Linked DNA regions of Homo sapiens: region 2 is linked to region 1. The links are contacts of gene promoters, found by promoter capture Hi-C in human tissues and cell types (Jung and others, 2019). All regions are on one chromosome and are shown on one strand. The core of a region is centred on a gene start or on the middle of the fragment in contact, and the rest is flanking DNA. Distances in the headings are between cores, read along the strand shown.

Region 1 (6,931 bases), core at 1,726-4,225:
AACTTTACAAATACCAATGCCCAGGCCCCAAACCAGATGAATTAATCAGAATCTGTAGGGGTAAGACCCCTGCATTGGTGTTTGTACAGCCAGGGTTGCAAAACACTGGTATAGAGATGTAAGATACCCCAGTTCAAGATAGTGAGGATGAACTTGGAGAGGTACTGAGATGCTCTCTCCAACCCCACCACATACACAGGGTCCTGTTGTAATTATTAGAATCCTAACACCCCAGAAGCAACAATAGCCCAGGAAATCTTCAAACTGTATCCCTGAAAAGCACTGTCACTTTATCTCAACTTGAAGCCAGTTGCTAAGGCCCTACCTGGGGCAGATAGCCAGCATGATTTGCTAGTTTTGAAGGTGTTTGCCAGGTATGCTGAGTCCTGGCTACTGGGGTTGGCAGACAAGTGCGCTCTCAGAAGACAGTACCCTGGAAAGGGAGAAACGTGATTCTGGGTGGATAATCTGTATTCTTGTCCCTCTCTGCAGGTCACTGTGGTCTTAGGGGACCTTCTGTCCTTTTCTTAGGGGAAATACCTGGAACGCTGGGGTACAGAGGAGAGACCATGGTAGGGGTGGAGTGATGTAGTCAGATATGCCCAGAGTTGACCCTGGAGCCACAGGAGCCTTCTGATAAACTTGGGGTCATTCCTGTTGAGAAGGGATGAGAATGTGGATGGCTCAGTAAGACAACACTGATTCAAGCAACAGTTATTGCTTAGCTACTCTATATTCTAAAAAGTCAAAAGGCAAACTGAGGAAAATATTGACAACAAATATAACATACATAAAGGGTCACTATGCTAATAAGTTTTACAGATCAGTAAGAAACACATTAAGGCCCTCAAAGAACCATGTGAGTAAAAGAATTCCTAGAAGACAAAACCACTGATAATTAAATGTTTAACCCTTGTTGGTAATCAAAGAGCCACATTAGAACATCATTTCCACTACCAAATTAGTGAACATTTACTTAAAATCCTAATATCTGATGCTAGCAATGGTTTGAATAGTTCTTCTTTGAGTAATAGCAGATTCACAGGTAGTGCTTCTCTGCTAGCACTGTTCTCATTGTTTGCATTCCTTCATTCCTTGTAAAGTAGGTGCTATTATCCCCATTTTGCTGCTGTAGCAACTTGTAGGGACCAGCCCCACAGGGTGGGTGGGTTTTTCTCCCCGTGTGCGGAGATGAGAGATTGTAGAAATAAAGACACAAGACAAAGAGATAAAAGAAAAGACAGCTGGGCCCGGGGGACCACTACCACCAAGAGGGCAGAGATCGGTAGTGGCCCCGAATGCCTGGCTGTGCTGTTATTTATTGGATACAAGGCAAAAGGGGCAGGGTAAGGAGTGTGAGTCATCTCCAATGATTGATAAGGTCACGTGAGTCACGTGTCCACCGGACAGGGGGCCCTTCCCTGCTTGGCAGCCGAGGTGGGTGGGGGTGGGGGCGGGGACAGGGGGAGGGAGAGAGAGAGAGAGAGAGAGGACAGCTTACGCCATTATTTCTGTGTATCAGAGACTTTTAGTACTTTCACTAATTTTGCTACTGCTATCTAGAAGGCAGAGCCAGATGTACAGGATGGAACATGAAAGTGAAACAGGAGTGTGACCGCTGAAGTACAGCGTCACAGGGAGATGTTTAGGCCTCCAGATAACTGTGGGCGGGCCTGACTGATGTCAAGCCCTCCACAAAAGGTGGTGGAGTAAAGTCTTCTCTAAACTCCCCCTGGGAAAGGGAGACTCCCTTTCCCGGTCTGCTAAGTAGCGGGTGCTTTTCCTTTGCATTGATGCTACCGCTAGACCACGGTCCGCCAGACCAGGGTCCGCCAGACCACGGTCCACTTGGTAACCGGCGTCTTCCCAGACGCTGGCATTACCGCTAGATCAAGGAGCCCTCTGGTGGCCCTGTCCGGACATAACAGAAGGCTCGCACTCTTGTCTTCTGGTCACTTCTCACTATGTCCCTTTGGTTCCTATCTCTCTATGGCCTGGTTTTTCCTAGGTTATGATTATAGAGCGAGGATTATTACAATATTGGAATAAAGAGTAATTGCTACAAACTAATGATTAACGATATTCATATATAATCACGTCTATGATCTAGATCTAGATCTAGTATAACTCTTGTTGTTTTGTATATTTTATTATACTGGAACAGCTTGTGCCCTCGGTCTCTTGCCTTGGCACCTGGGTGGCTTGCCGCCCACAGAAACTAAGTCAGATAACTTGCCAAAAGCCACACTGCTGATGTGCAGCGCACCCGCTTCACTGCAGGTGGAAGTGGAAGTGAATAATAACCTTCCTGGAAGGCAGTCTGCAAGCCCATATTGACAGCTGAAAAATATTCATTCCCTTTCACCTAGTGATTCGACTCCCAGGAATCCATTCTAAGAAAACAACCAGAGTTGAGCCATTTCGTTCTTGGCAGCACATGTGAAACAATGGCACATCCATTATGACGCTGGGCTCTGGTTGCGTCATAATGTACGTTTAGTATGTGGAGTGACAATGGGCGCTAGCTCGTAATATAATGCTATTAATAAACGAAAAGAGATACAAAAAATAGTCATGATATGCATATATATTGCAATAAACCATGATTTCTGTGCGTGGTGGGATGGTAATTTTTAATTTCCACATTGAATATTTCTGTTTTCTACTTATTAGTTTGATAATCGGAAACAAAAGCCAAGTGTCTTTGTTGTTTGTGTGTTTGATGCTGAGTTTCCCGGGCAGCAGGACTGGGAGGTTGAGTGGGGGTTTTGGCTCAGACCGGGAGCAGAGCGGCGGGTGGGGAGCGGCAGGCGGGCAGGGTCCCCGGAGGCCCCCGGGCTCTGCCCCTCCAGCTAGAGAGGCAGCCGAACCCTAGCGGCCTGGAAGGGGCCGGGAAACCGCGGCCAGCTGGCAAGGAGTGGCCCCCGGGGGCGGGGCGCCGGCGGGTGTGTGAGTAGCCCGCCCGGCCCGGGTCCGAGTTCCAGCCCCGCGATGGCCTCCGCGGGCAGCACCGCTCGGCGGGCGGGCTCCGGAAGCTGGCACTCAGAAAGGGGAGAAGGGAGAGGTGCTCGGCCGCAGCCAACTCCAAGTGGCTCCATGCAGCAGGCGAACAAAGTCTCCTTGAAGGCCACCTGGACTGACGCGGAGTCCAAGCAGCCCAGGTGGGTAGCGGGAGAAGGTGTCCCGGCTGCAGGGAGCGAGAACCCGGCCCAGCGCCTCCCTGGTGGGCAGGGCCTGGAGCGGGCGGGGGCGGAGGCTGCGGCCCGAGAAGCCAGCAGAGACAGGCTGGGGCCAGGGATCGCCTCCCGAGAGGTGCCTAGGCCGTGGCCCAGAGTCGCTTCCCCACTGCCCCGCCCACCAGCCAGGCGGGGGCCAGGGATCGCCTCCCGAGAGGTGCCCGGGCCGTGGCCCAGAGTCGCTTCCCCACTGCCCCGCCCTCCAGCCAGCCCCTGCCCGACCTCGCAGACCACCTCAGTGCGCAGGCGACTGCCCTCGCCAGGCCGCGCCGCCCTGCCTCGCTCACCCCGCCCCGCGCTGACCCCAGCCCCAGCAAGGAGTCCGACCAGACGGCAATCGACCAGACGGCGATCGGGAGCTACTACCAGCTGTTCGCAGCGGCTGTGGGCAACGTGGAATGGCTGCGATTCTGTCTGAACCAGAGCCTCAGGGAAATCCCCACCGACGACAAGGTAAGGTCTTGAGTGTTGGGGCAAAGACCGAGGTCCCTCTCCCGCTACGCTGCTCGGAGTGGTCACCTGGAGAAGAGATATCCTTTTCTGGGTAGATCTTCCTAATTTAACTCATCTTCTGGCTGTGGAAGGACCATTTTGGGGGCAGGGAGGTTGGGTGGGCTGATGAACACACACTGGTTAATTAGCAAAAGGGTGTGAGCATTCCTGGGGACACAGGGAAGAAAGTGAAGGTAACCCCAATAAATTTATATAAATTGTGGACCCTGGGACCTCAGTCCCACTCAGCCTCCTCCTGCCTGCTCTGAACCTCACAGGGCTTCACTGCCATCCACTTCGCCGCCCAATGGGGCAAGCTTGCATGCCTGCAGGTCCTGGTAGAGGAGTACAAGTTTCCCGTGGACCTGCTGACCAACAATAGCCAGACACCCCTGCACCTCGTCATCCACAGGGACAACACCACCGTGGCCCTCCCCTGCATCTACTACCTGCTGGAGAAAGGCGCAGACCTCAATGCGTGAGTCCAGCCTGCTTCAGGAGGGAGGCTTCGGGCACAGGCACGGGCACAGCCCTACTTCCAGGCAGGCAAATCCATGCAGGACAAGCAGAGGGGTTGCTGGAGGTGACAAGGATTGGGTCCCACATAAAGCAGTCAGGAATCCACATGGTGTAATAAAGAGACTGGGCTTTAGCCGGGCATGGTGGCTCATGCCTATAATCCCAACACTTTGGAAGGCCGAGGCAGGCGGATCACCTGAGGTCAGGAGTTCAACACCAGCATGACCAACATGGAGAAACCCCATCTCTACTAAAAATACAAAATTAGCAGGGCATGGTGGCGCATGCCTGTAATCCCAGCTATTCGGGAGGCTGAGGCAGGAGAATTGCTTGAACCCAGGAGATGGAGGTTGCGGTGAGCTGAGATGGTGCCATTGCACTTCAGCCCGGGCAACAAGAGCGAGACTCCGTCTCAACAAAAAAAAAAAAAAAAAAAAGATTGGCCTTTAACAGACCTAGTCTACATCCCAGCTCTGCAACTTGCTAGCAGACAGCAGGACCTTAGGCAAGTCACTCAACCTCTATGCCCCAGTACTCTGGCTCCCAAACTTAGGTGTACATTGGAATTACCTAGGGAGCTTAAAAAATATGAACACCTGGCCGGGTGGCATGGTGGCATAGTCCCAGCTACTTGGGAGGCTGAGGCAGGAGAATCGCTTGAACCCGGGAGGTGGAGGTTGCGGTGGGCCGAGATTGCTCCAATGCACTCCAGCCTGGCAATAGAGCGAGACTGTCTCAAAAAATAAAAAATAAAAAAAATTAGGCTGGCCGCAGTGGCTCACGCCTGTAATCCCAGCACTTTGGGAGGCTGGGGCGAGCGGATCACGAGGTCAGGAGATCAAGAACATCCTGGCTAACATGGTAAAACCCCGTCTCTACTAAAAATACAAAAAAGTTAACCGGGCGTAGTGGCGGGTGCCTGTTGTCCCAGCTACTTGGGAGGCTGAGGCAGGAGAATGGCGTGAACCTGGGAGGCAGAGCTTGCAGTGAGCCAAGATCGTGCCACTGCACTCCAGCCTGGGCGACAGAGCGAGACTCCGTCTAAAAAAAAAAAATTAAAAAATATAAACACCTGTGTTCCAATCCAAAGGCTGTGATTTAATGGGTCTGTGGTGTGACCTGGGCTTGGGAAGTCAGAAAAGATCCCCAGGTGCTTCTAACTTGAAGCTAAGTTTGGGAACCTCTGTCTCAGTGTCTTCAACTGAAACTTGGGAGAATAGCAGTACCTATCACATGGGACTACTGTGATCACTGAAAAGTGCATGGCATATAGGAGACTGCATTCATTCAAAGTATCAAGTATGCACTATGTGCTAAGCACTATGCTAGAGTCACAGAAATGGTCCCTCTCCTCACGAAGCTGACATTCTAGTAAAGGAGCAGACAGTGAATTAGCAAACAAATAAATGAACAAAATCCTGACAGAGCATGGGAAGTGGTTATGAAAAAATAAACGGGGTGATGGTGTAGGGGGTAAAGCAGGTAGGGGGAGGATCTATTTTGGATGAAGCAATCACCTCTAAGGAGGTGACATTTAAATTGGAACCTGAAGACAGAGTGAGCCAGCCATGCAAAGAGCCAGGGAAAAGTGTTCCAGGTAGAGGTAACATCATATGCAAAGACCATGTGTTGGGAAAGAGTGGGCAAGGTCAAAGGATAAGATCGAGGAGGTTAGGCCCAGGTCATGCAGATCTTGTGGGCATACGGAATCTGGTGAGGCATAGGGAAAGGGCAGGGGGCTGGTTGGTTTAAGAGTGGATGAGGTTAGTGGTCTCTGAACCAAGCCAGCTCTCCTTCCAGCAGTTCTTAACTATCACATACCTTCTAAAGTCAGATTTTTACTGTTCACTTAGTCCAATTCCTCCCTTTACAGTAAAGGAAATTGAGGTGCCAAAAGGGACAGACATAGCTAGGATCACCCAGTGGACTGATGGTAGAGCAGGGCTTGGAAACTGGTGTGTCCATCTATCTGATGGACAGATGCTCTTTGTCTTTCCTTTCTGCCCTTATCCCCACTGGTGGGGCCTTCCACAGTCAGACATGCAACGGCTCCACGCCCCTGCACCTGGCAGCCCGTGACGGCTTGCTGGACTGTGTGAAGGTCCTGGTGCAGAGTGGCGCCAACGTCCATGCCCAAGATGCCATGGGCTACAAACCCATTGACTTCTGCAAAATATGGAACCACCGTGCCTGTGCCCGGTGAGAGTGTGAGAACCACCTGGAGCCTGCCCACCCCCTTCCCCTCCCCCAGCCTTTTCCCTAGGGCCCTCACCACAGCTGAGCCTTTAAGGGGAGGGTTGGGAAGCCAGACAGCTGGAGGATGCGCCTACTGCCCAGGATATTTTGGATGAGGCAATCACCTCATCACCTGGGCTTGGGGGTAAGTCTGCCCAGGTCCCCTGCTCTCTGGGTTGATCACTGCCCTCCTTTCCTGCCCTGGGGCCCCTGGCTCCTCAGCAGGAGGGTGGTGACCAGGTCATCAAGGACTTTCGTCTTTCACCTAAAGGAAGTAGGGAGCCAGAGGGCCCCGGGCAATGGGGATGGCTCATCTTGCTCCTCTCCCTCTGGCCACTCCCCTCATCCCCATCCAAGCCCTCAGCAGCAGCCAGTCTTCCCAGCCCAGGTGGAAGCTCTGTCACTGTGGGATGACACCCCCGCCCTGACCTTGGCACCAGGTTCTTGAA
Region 2 (6,931 bases), core at 2,044-4,543, 150 kb before region 1:
CATGCCTGCACTTTTCTGCAAGGAAGGCTGTAAGTGCTAGTTCTGCTTCTAACTTTAAAAGGTGAACTCAAAATACAGGAAGATACCTAAACCAAGAAGCTGTTCAGGATAAAGGAAGAACCACAAGAGTGTGACAAATGTTTTCCAGTGACATAATTCTATTGCATGTCTGTAGATCTTGTTATTCCTGGAAGCATTTAAGCTTTCAAATGTAACAAATCATTTGTCACGCTTCTTCAACACTAAGTAAAAAACAGATGTCACTCATCTGCCTAAAACACTTCAATGTTTCCTCCTTGTCCTTCACATAAAATCCAAAACCCCTCCTCTGGCTTTGAAGGCCCTCCAACAGCTGCCTGTCCCCTGCTTCACCTCACACCACACTCCAGCTAGACTGGAGTTCTCTTGGTGCCTCAGGCCTGTCACACTCCTTCTCTGCATTTTCTGTTTTCTCTCTCTTTCCTCGTCTGTGTCCCCATCCCACTCTGCCTAAATTCTGCTCATCTCTCAAGGCTCAGCTTATGTGCCTCTTCCTCAGGAAGCCTTACGAAATCCTTTCGCTTTAGGCTCCCACAGAACAATAAAAGTTTCCTTTTTGAAAACACACTGAGTTTATCATAAATTGGGTAGCCTGTGTTTTCTCCCCCAAAAACAGAGATTCATTCTGAGACCTGAAAAAAAAAAGAAAGTTGCCTTGGGACAGATAGGAGGGGAGGTTCTTGGAGGTCTGGGATGGGAACAGAGAGGCAGAGAGAAAGGAGGGCCTGAAATCTGTGAGGGAGGCAACGCATTGCCCTGCTGGGGGCTACCTGGAGCCCTGGCCAGGTGGGGTCACCAAGGGAGCCAATGGCAGCCCCCATGCCCAGGGCCCAGCCCCAACCAGGGCAACAATGCCAGGAATAATGCCAATAATCCCAGAAGCCAGGGTGCTTTGTAAGAAAAAGGGGAAGTGCTAGGCAACTACACACGTGTGTGCGCGCACACACACACACACCCCACCCAAATAATGGCTTATCTTCCAAAGCACTGGGAAAATTAAAGCAAAGAAAGCATAGCTCATACAATATGAGAAAAAGAGGAGAGAGAGAAAGAGAAAGCGAGAGAGAATGACAAAGAGAAAATGAAGTGATTCAATAGATAGATAGATCAATAAAGCATAAAAACAGAAAAATAAAATATAGTACATGTTCACGAGCATTAGGACTAGTTGGTCAGTGGGGGTGATTCAAGTATTTTTTTCTCTTCTTTTATATTCAAACACAAAAGGATAAATTTTTCAAGAGTATTTTATTGCAACATTGAAAGAGGGCATGTCAAGCATTGTTAGCCTGCCAAATCAGAAAAAAAAAGAAAGAAAACAACTAATGTAATACAATAAATACCCAAGTTGACTGAGAAAAAGTTCTCACCTGTCCCTGGCTCCCAACTTTTCACCTGACAATGGAAAAATCCCCAGAATTTCACAAGAAATACTGTGGGGTCCATGATACGAGGAGCTGCCCAGGTATTGATAACACCCCAAGACCTGCTAGAGACAGGACTAGAGCACTATCAATGGTGGGACTTCCTGGGCGAGGCCACACTGCCAGCAGAAGGGCAGGTGCCCATGTAGCGACCTCCCTGGAGAAGCAAGGCATGCATACAGTGGGGGAGGGAGCCAAAGTCACAAGACAAAGCAAAGCGACAGGTGTCCCAGCTTCCTCAAGGGAGGAAGCCAAGGCAATGCTGCACTTGTTGGGTTCAGGCTGGGGCACAGACTCCAGATAAAAACACATCCTCACTGACTCAGGCTCTTTCAGTTTCAAGAAAAAGCAATGGTTGGGGTCAGGAGCACAGCCTCGTAAGGTCCCCATGCACAGAAACCAGGAGGATCAGAAGGGCTGGGAGGATCTGAGGCAGCCCTGGGAACGGGAGCAGCCGGAGCCCTTCAGGCTGCCCTCCGGGACCTCCATTGCGACTCCTCTGAGCCGTTCTCTTTTCTCTGCCAACTATAATCCTCTGCAGTCACTTCTTTTTTTTTGAAACAAAGTCTTGCCCTGTTGCCCAGGCTGGAGTGCAGTGGTGGGATCTCAGCTCACTGCAACCTCTGCCTCCCAGATTCAAGCAATTCTCCTGCCTCAGTCTCCCAAGTAGTTGGAATTACAGGTGCCCACCACCATGCCCGGCTAATTTTTGTATTTTTAGTAGAGATGGGGTTTCACCATGTTGGCCAGGCTGTCTCGAACTCCTGACCTCAGGTGACCCACCCACTTCAGCCTCCCAAAGTGCTGGGATTATAGGCATGAGCCACCATGCCAGGCCTGTATTCATGTCTTTCCCCTGCCTCATAGCTTCTGCTCATTGCTAGTTTCTTCCAATGCCACGTGACGGCCCCTCCAGCCTTTCTCTTAACTCAGTGCCTTCCAGCTCAACTTCCTTTTGTTAACAGCCTCATCCTCTTGCTATTTCCTGGTTCAAATTCTTTCCCAGAGAAATGGTCTGATTTTCCCAGCTCATCTCTTTGCCAAAACCAACCAGAGATCCCCGACCAGCCTTGTTCTTGTCACCTCCCATTTCCTCCATTGGTGAGGGAGGGATCCCCTGCTCTAAATAGGACAAGATGGCCAAAACAAGACATTTGACACTGTGCAGGTGAGACTGGCAGCAGTTTACTAGTCACAAATACAGTCTACTGGGGAAAGATATCATAAGCCACACAGGGCCACATGGGGTCACCCTCAGGAGCAGAGTGAACCAGCCAGGGCTGTGGGAGGCAGGCCTTGTAGTAATAAAAGGATGAGATGCCCCGGATTCCTGTAGGAGGATGTGATTGGCTTGTTTGAATAGTTTCTCAGGCTGGCAGAGAAGTGAAACCCATTAAGTAGAAAACTGGGTGGCATGCAGCTGGTCCAGATGATAGGAAATTAGCCAGGTGGGGACCGAGGGCAAGGATATATCTGGTGAGAGGCAGGGAACTCAGGGTTAGGTCTTTGGGGCCCTGTGAGGCATAAAATGTCACAGCAGCACGTGGTATTTCAGGTCTTACAATACAAGCCTGTGCCCTCAGCTGTGACCCATTTGCACCCAGAACAACACACTGCTGGTTACAGTTATTTAAGGAAGCATCTTTTCCTGAGGACCTTAATGAAGACCTGTGCTCACTCCACCCTCCTCTCCTCTCTGTGGTGGCTGCTGCCTGGATTCCAGCTTCAGCCACTGGACTTGGGATTTGGAACTGATGCCTGTGGAACTGGGTCTCTGTGAAGAGTGGGGAACCTGCTGAGACTTGTTCTTGGGAATTGAGCTATAGACTAGAAGATTGTGCAGTAAACAAGAAGAAAGATCACCAAGATCGTGACATTGGAGACCTTGCTCTACTTTAATAAAAACTAGAGATAAGTACTGGTCACATTTTGTGGCATTTCCAGGACTGGAACTTCCCCAGTCCTTGTTATTTTTGACTCCCCAGATGTTTCCTGAGGATACCCTAGAACTTCATGTCCACCAGAGGAGACTGCCTTTCCCACATATTCACCTGGACAACCAGAAATGAAAAAGTGCACTTGGAGTGAGTCCTTGACCCAGGCAGCATTTTATTCTGAGGAAGCTGGAAGGTGAATTCATGAAGGCACTGAAGGCTGCTTCCCATGCACAAGACACAGGAAGATAGGAAATGCAGAAGGAGGAGGAGGTGCCGGAGAGGTGAGGACAGGGGCTGGATGGACGCTGGGTGGAAGGCAGGGCTCGGCACTCCAGTGTACTAAGGGAGTGGAAGGAGAAGGGAGGCTGGGTGCCAGCCGAGCTCTGAAGGAGATACAAGTCCGTGTCAGCCACTGACTTGAACCAGAGAAGAACGGGTTCAGGCTTTAGATGATGTGGATGAAGAAACCACTGGGGACATACCATGAGCAGGATTTCCAAGAACAGAGCTATTTGCACTGCAAACACAGCCAGCTGCTAGCTGCCAGCACAGCTAAGCAGAGACATGGAAATTCTAGGGGGTTTGGCCAAGAAAAGCCCTGGATGACAATATCAGGAGAATTGCTTGGTTGCTCTGGAGTAACTTTGATGTGATGAAGCTGAGGTTTCTCTGAAAGAGTGGAAAACCCCAGGGTGTTATGCCGGATTACGGGTCTTGATCCTCCTTAGCAGGGCAATTGGAACTTCTAAATCCTCTCTACCCACCCCTCCCACTTTAACCTGAATTCTCCTTTCCATTCCAGCTGCCTCCAAGACGTCAGAGAATTTCCAGCCAAGACAGACGGACTCCAGAATGCCACTGTGGGACAATTTTGAAGCAAGAAAAATTAACGTGCAAAGTCATCCTGGAGTCTGGGGAAGAAAGAGGCATTTCCTCATGTTTAACAAGCGTTGGAGCTCAAAGAGTGAGCTTGGGAGCCTGTCCTGTCACGGTTCTGATGGGACATAGGGTCGCTTACAAATGAAAAGAAACGTTTTGTCACATGGGGCATCATTCCAGGCCTGAAGTGAGGGAGCCTTTATATTGCCACAGTGTTCATTGTTCCCAGCATTGTTGGGCTCACCTGGAATCCAGAACCTACCAAGAGCGGGGAAAAAGATGGATTTACAAAGTGGAAAATCAAAAAGAACTTATTTCCAGTGAAGAAATGAGTTAACTCAACCCAAGCTTTTGTCCTAGGGAATGGCATAGCAAATGTCTGCACCCAAGCCTCAGAGGAAGGGGACTGGTGAGACTTCGACCTCTAAGCTTTCACATGCCCCAAGTCCAGGCCAAACCAACCCACCACTTTCAAGTCCCTACACAAACCCACACTGTGAAGACCTAGACTCATGACAAGATCCCTGAAGCTGGCCAGGTAGAAGGCCTTGTTGCCAAACCCCAGAGGGCGTGGAGGGCTCAGGTCCACAGCCAGTTGGTGACAGGGTTGTGCTCGATCTTGGTTGCAATGTTCCTGTCACTCTAAGACAGGGAAGAATCAGAAACCCTGTCTCATGGGGAACATCGCCCCCACTCCCTTCATGCCCTGGCCATGGCCGGGGAAAGTCAGGCTGGCACGGAGGGCTCCAGGGGCTTACCTCACACTTTGGACCTTGTTGAATGGCGTGTCATCCACCCAGGACCAGTCCCCTTCCATCCCTGCTTTAGTCAGGCCAATCCAGTAGATGAGTCCCCCCGCTGTTTTATACAGAAACTCCTGTAGGAAAGACAGGATAAGCAGAGGTGCGGCCACACTTGGAGCTTGATCATCTGTCTCTGGGTGTTCTTCACCTGCGCTCAGTGACAGCCCTGACCCACAGATGCGCTGCACAAACTGGCCTCTCAAGCTTCTTCCTGCCCTTGCCCAGAGCCCAGATTTCATCTTCCAGATTATGATGTGTCCCTGCTCTGCAGCTAACAAGCTCAGGACTCAAGCCTTTCTGCCACTCAGGAAGCAGGTGCTGAAGCACAGGAAGGCCTCAGCTGAACTCCAGAGCACGGACCGCAAGAGAATGGTTCATATGATAATACCTGAATTAAATGAGCCCTGAATCCACATACGGCACTGTGCTGAGTCGTCCATATGCATTCTCTCCTTTCCTCTGAGGCAGGTGCCATCACCATGCATGTTTCATCAAGTGAGGGCCAGTGAAGTTTGCCCAGTGAAGTTGGGTATTCCACCCAAGCTGCTAGGACTAGTTAGATGGCAAGGTTCAGGCTCTAGAACTACGCCAGAGCCCAGGCTCTGACCTGCTCTGCTATCCCACCTCCCAGATGAAAAGGGCCTGCCCAATTTCTGCCTCACCAGGCAGGAGACTTCTTGAGTCATGTGGAATCATTAAGGCTGTTCACAAATATTTCTTTTTTTCTGGGCACATGGAAAGTAGATCCTCTCTGCCCTGTTCCAGGAGTACTGGAATCCAGGATCCTCCCAATCCAGGAGTACTGCATAACTTACTTAACTTAATTAACATAACTTAAGCTAGTGAAATGTAAGCAAAAATGAGGTATGTTAAATCTGGGCAGAAGCTTTGCACAATATGTCAAGTTCCCCTTTCCTGCCCCAGCAATTGTGGAGACATATTAAGATGAAGACTCCTTGGGCCTGGGTCCTTGAGTAGCCACAGTGAGCACAGCCCCCTTGCCGGCCCTTATTCGACATGCTACTGAGAACCAATCCTTCTTCATTAGGTCATCAATATTTGGGGATTTTTGTTCACGCAGTATAATCTTGCCCATCCTCCCTGGCCCAGTGCTCATACGCCCCCTTCACAGAGCCCATAGGCACAGCACTCACCTGCTCACTCTCTGAGGTCACCGAGGTCAGGTGTGAATTCCTGGACACACAGAACTGCTCGGCACTATACCAGGTCTTTGGAATGAGAGAAAAGTAATAGAAGTTCCCCTTGAAGTACTTCCAGCCTTGAGAAACCACCTGTAGAATATCATCTAGAGAACAAGAGGTAAAAGTGAACGCTGGTATTCTTGATTTCTTGGGATGCTGGCTTGGTGGGGGCACTTGAATGAGGTCTCAGAGACAGCAGCAAATGGAGCTGTGCGCTGGTGTCCTTGGGTCCTTGTATAGGAGATTAGGGACACTCTTTCAAATCCTGAAAGTCAGACAGAGACTAATAGAGTCTCTGGGACTGGAGAGGTTATAATGCAAGAGGTTGGACAAAGAGTGTCTTCCCCATGATGAGGAAGCAACCCTCCATCGGCCATGACAAGTGGCTGAGCCCCTGGACTCTAGAAAGGAACTTGATGGGAAATGACTAGGTGTGGGCCAGGGTGGACATCCCCTAATGCTTTTACATTCTGCACTTTTGTGTGGGAGCTCTAGCTGGACCCTGGTCTCTTTTCTCCTAACAGCCCCTAAGTCCTCCCCAACCTCAAGCCCTCTCTCCTTAACTTCCTAGCCCATGGCTGCCCCTCTTTTGCCCCCACTCTCCTCCCCAACCCACCAGCCCAATGGCCTCAGGTCTGGGACAGGTA

What was found. The method cuts DNA at HindIII sites, captures the fragments that hold promoters and counts their contacts. A contact is called where the count stands out against the background at its distance.
Region 2: a fragment that was not itself captured here is called in contact with the fragment with the promoter of ANKRD53 in region 1 in 3 of the 25 tissues and cell types used here (IMR-90 fibroblasts, mesendoderm cells and thymus).

Annotation. Positions count from the first base shown.
Region 1 is chr2:70,975,655-70,982,585 of GRCh38, forward strand. It overlaps ANKRD53 (ankyrin repeat domain 53), which reads left to right and starts at 2,976. Exons shown (of 6, transcript NM_001115116.2): 1 at 2,976-3,161; 2 at 3,443-3,689; 3 at 4,007-4,206; 4 at 6,282-6,446; 5 at 6,923-6,931. The coding sequence starts at 2,992. It overlaps LOC105374795 (a long non-coding RNA gene), which reads right to left. Exons shown (of 2, transcript XR_001739534.2): 2 at 1-654. RefSeq lists an enhancer at 1,606-1,875 and silencers at 2,903-2,992, 3,353-3,412. The HindIII fragment of the contact is 11,444 bases long and covers 1-5,658 here.
Region 2 is chr2:70,826,664-70,833,594 of GRCh38, forward strand. It overlaps CD207 (CD207 molecule), which reads right to left. Exons shown (of 6, transcript NM_015717.5): 4 at 6,237-6,388; 5 at 5,038-5,156; 6 at 3,548-4,537. The coding sequence ends at 4,387. Among named protein-coding and RNA genes, the nearest start is that of CD207, 5.7 kb to the right of the region's middle. RefSeq lists an enhancer at 3,850-5,049. The HindIII fragment of the contact is 6,837 bases long and covers 1-6,712 here.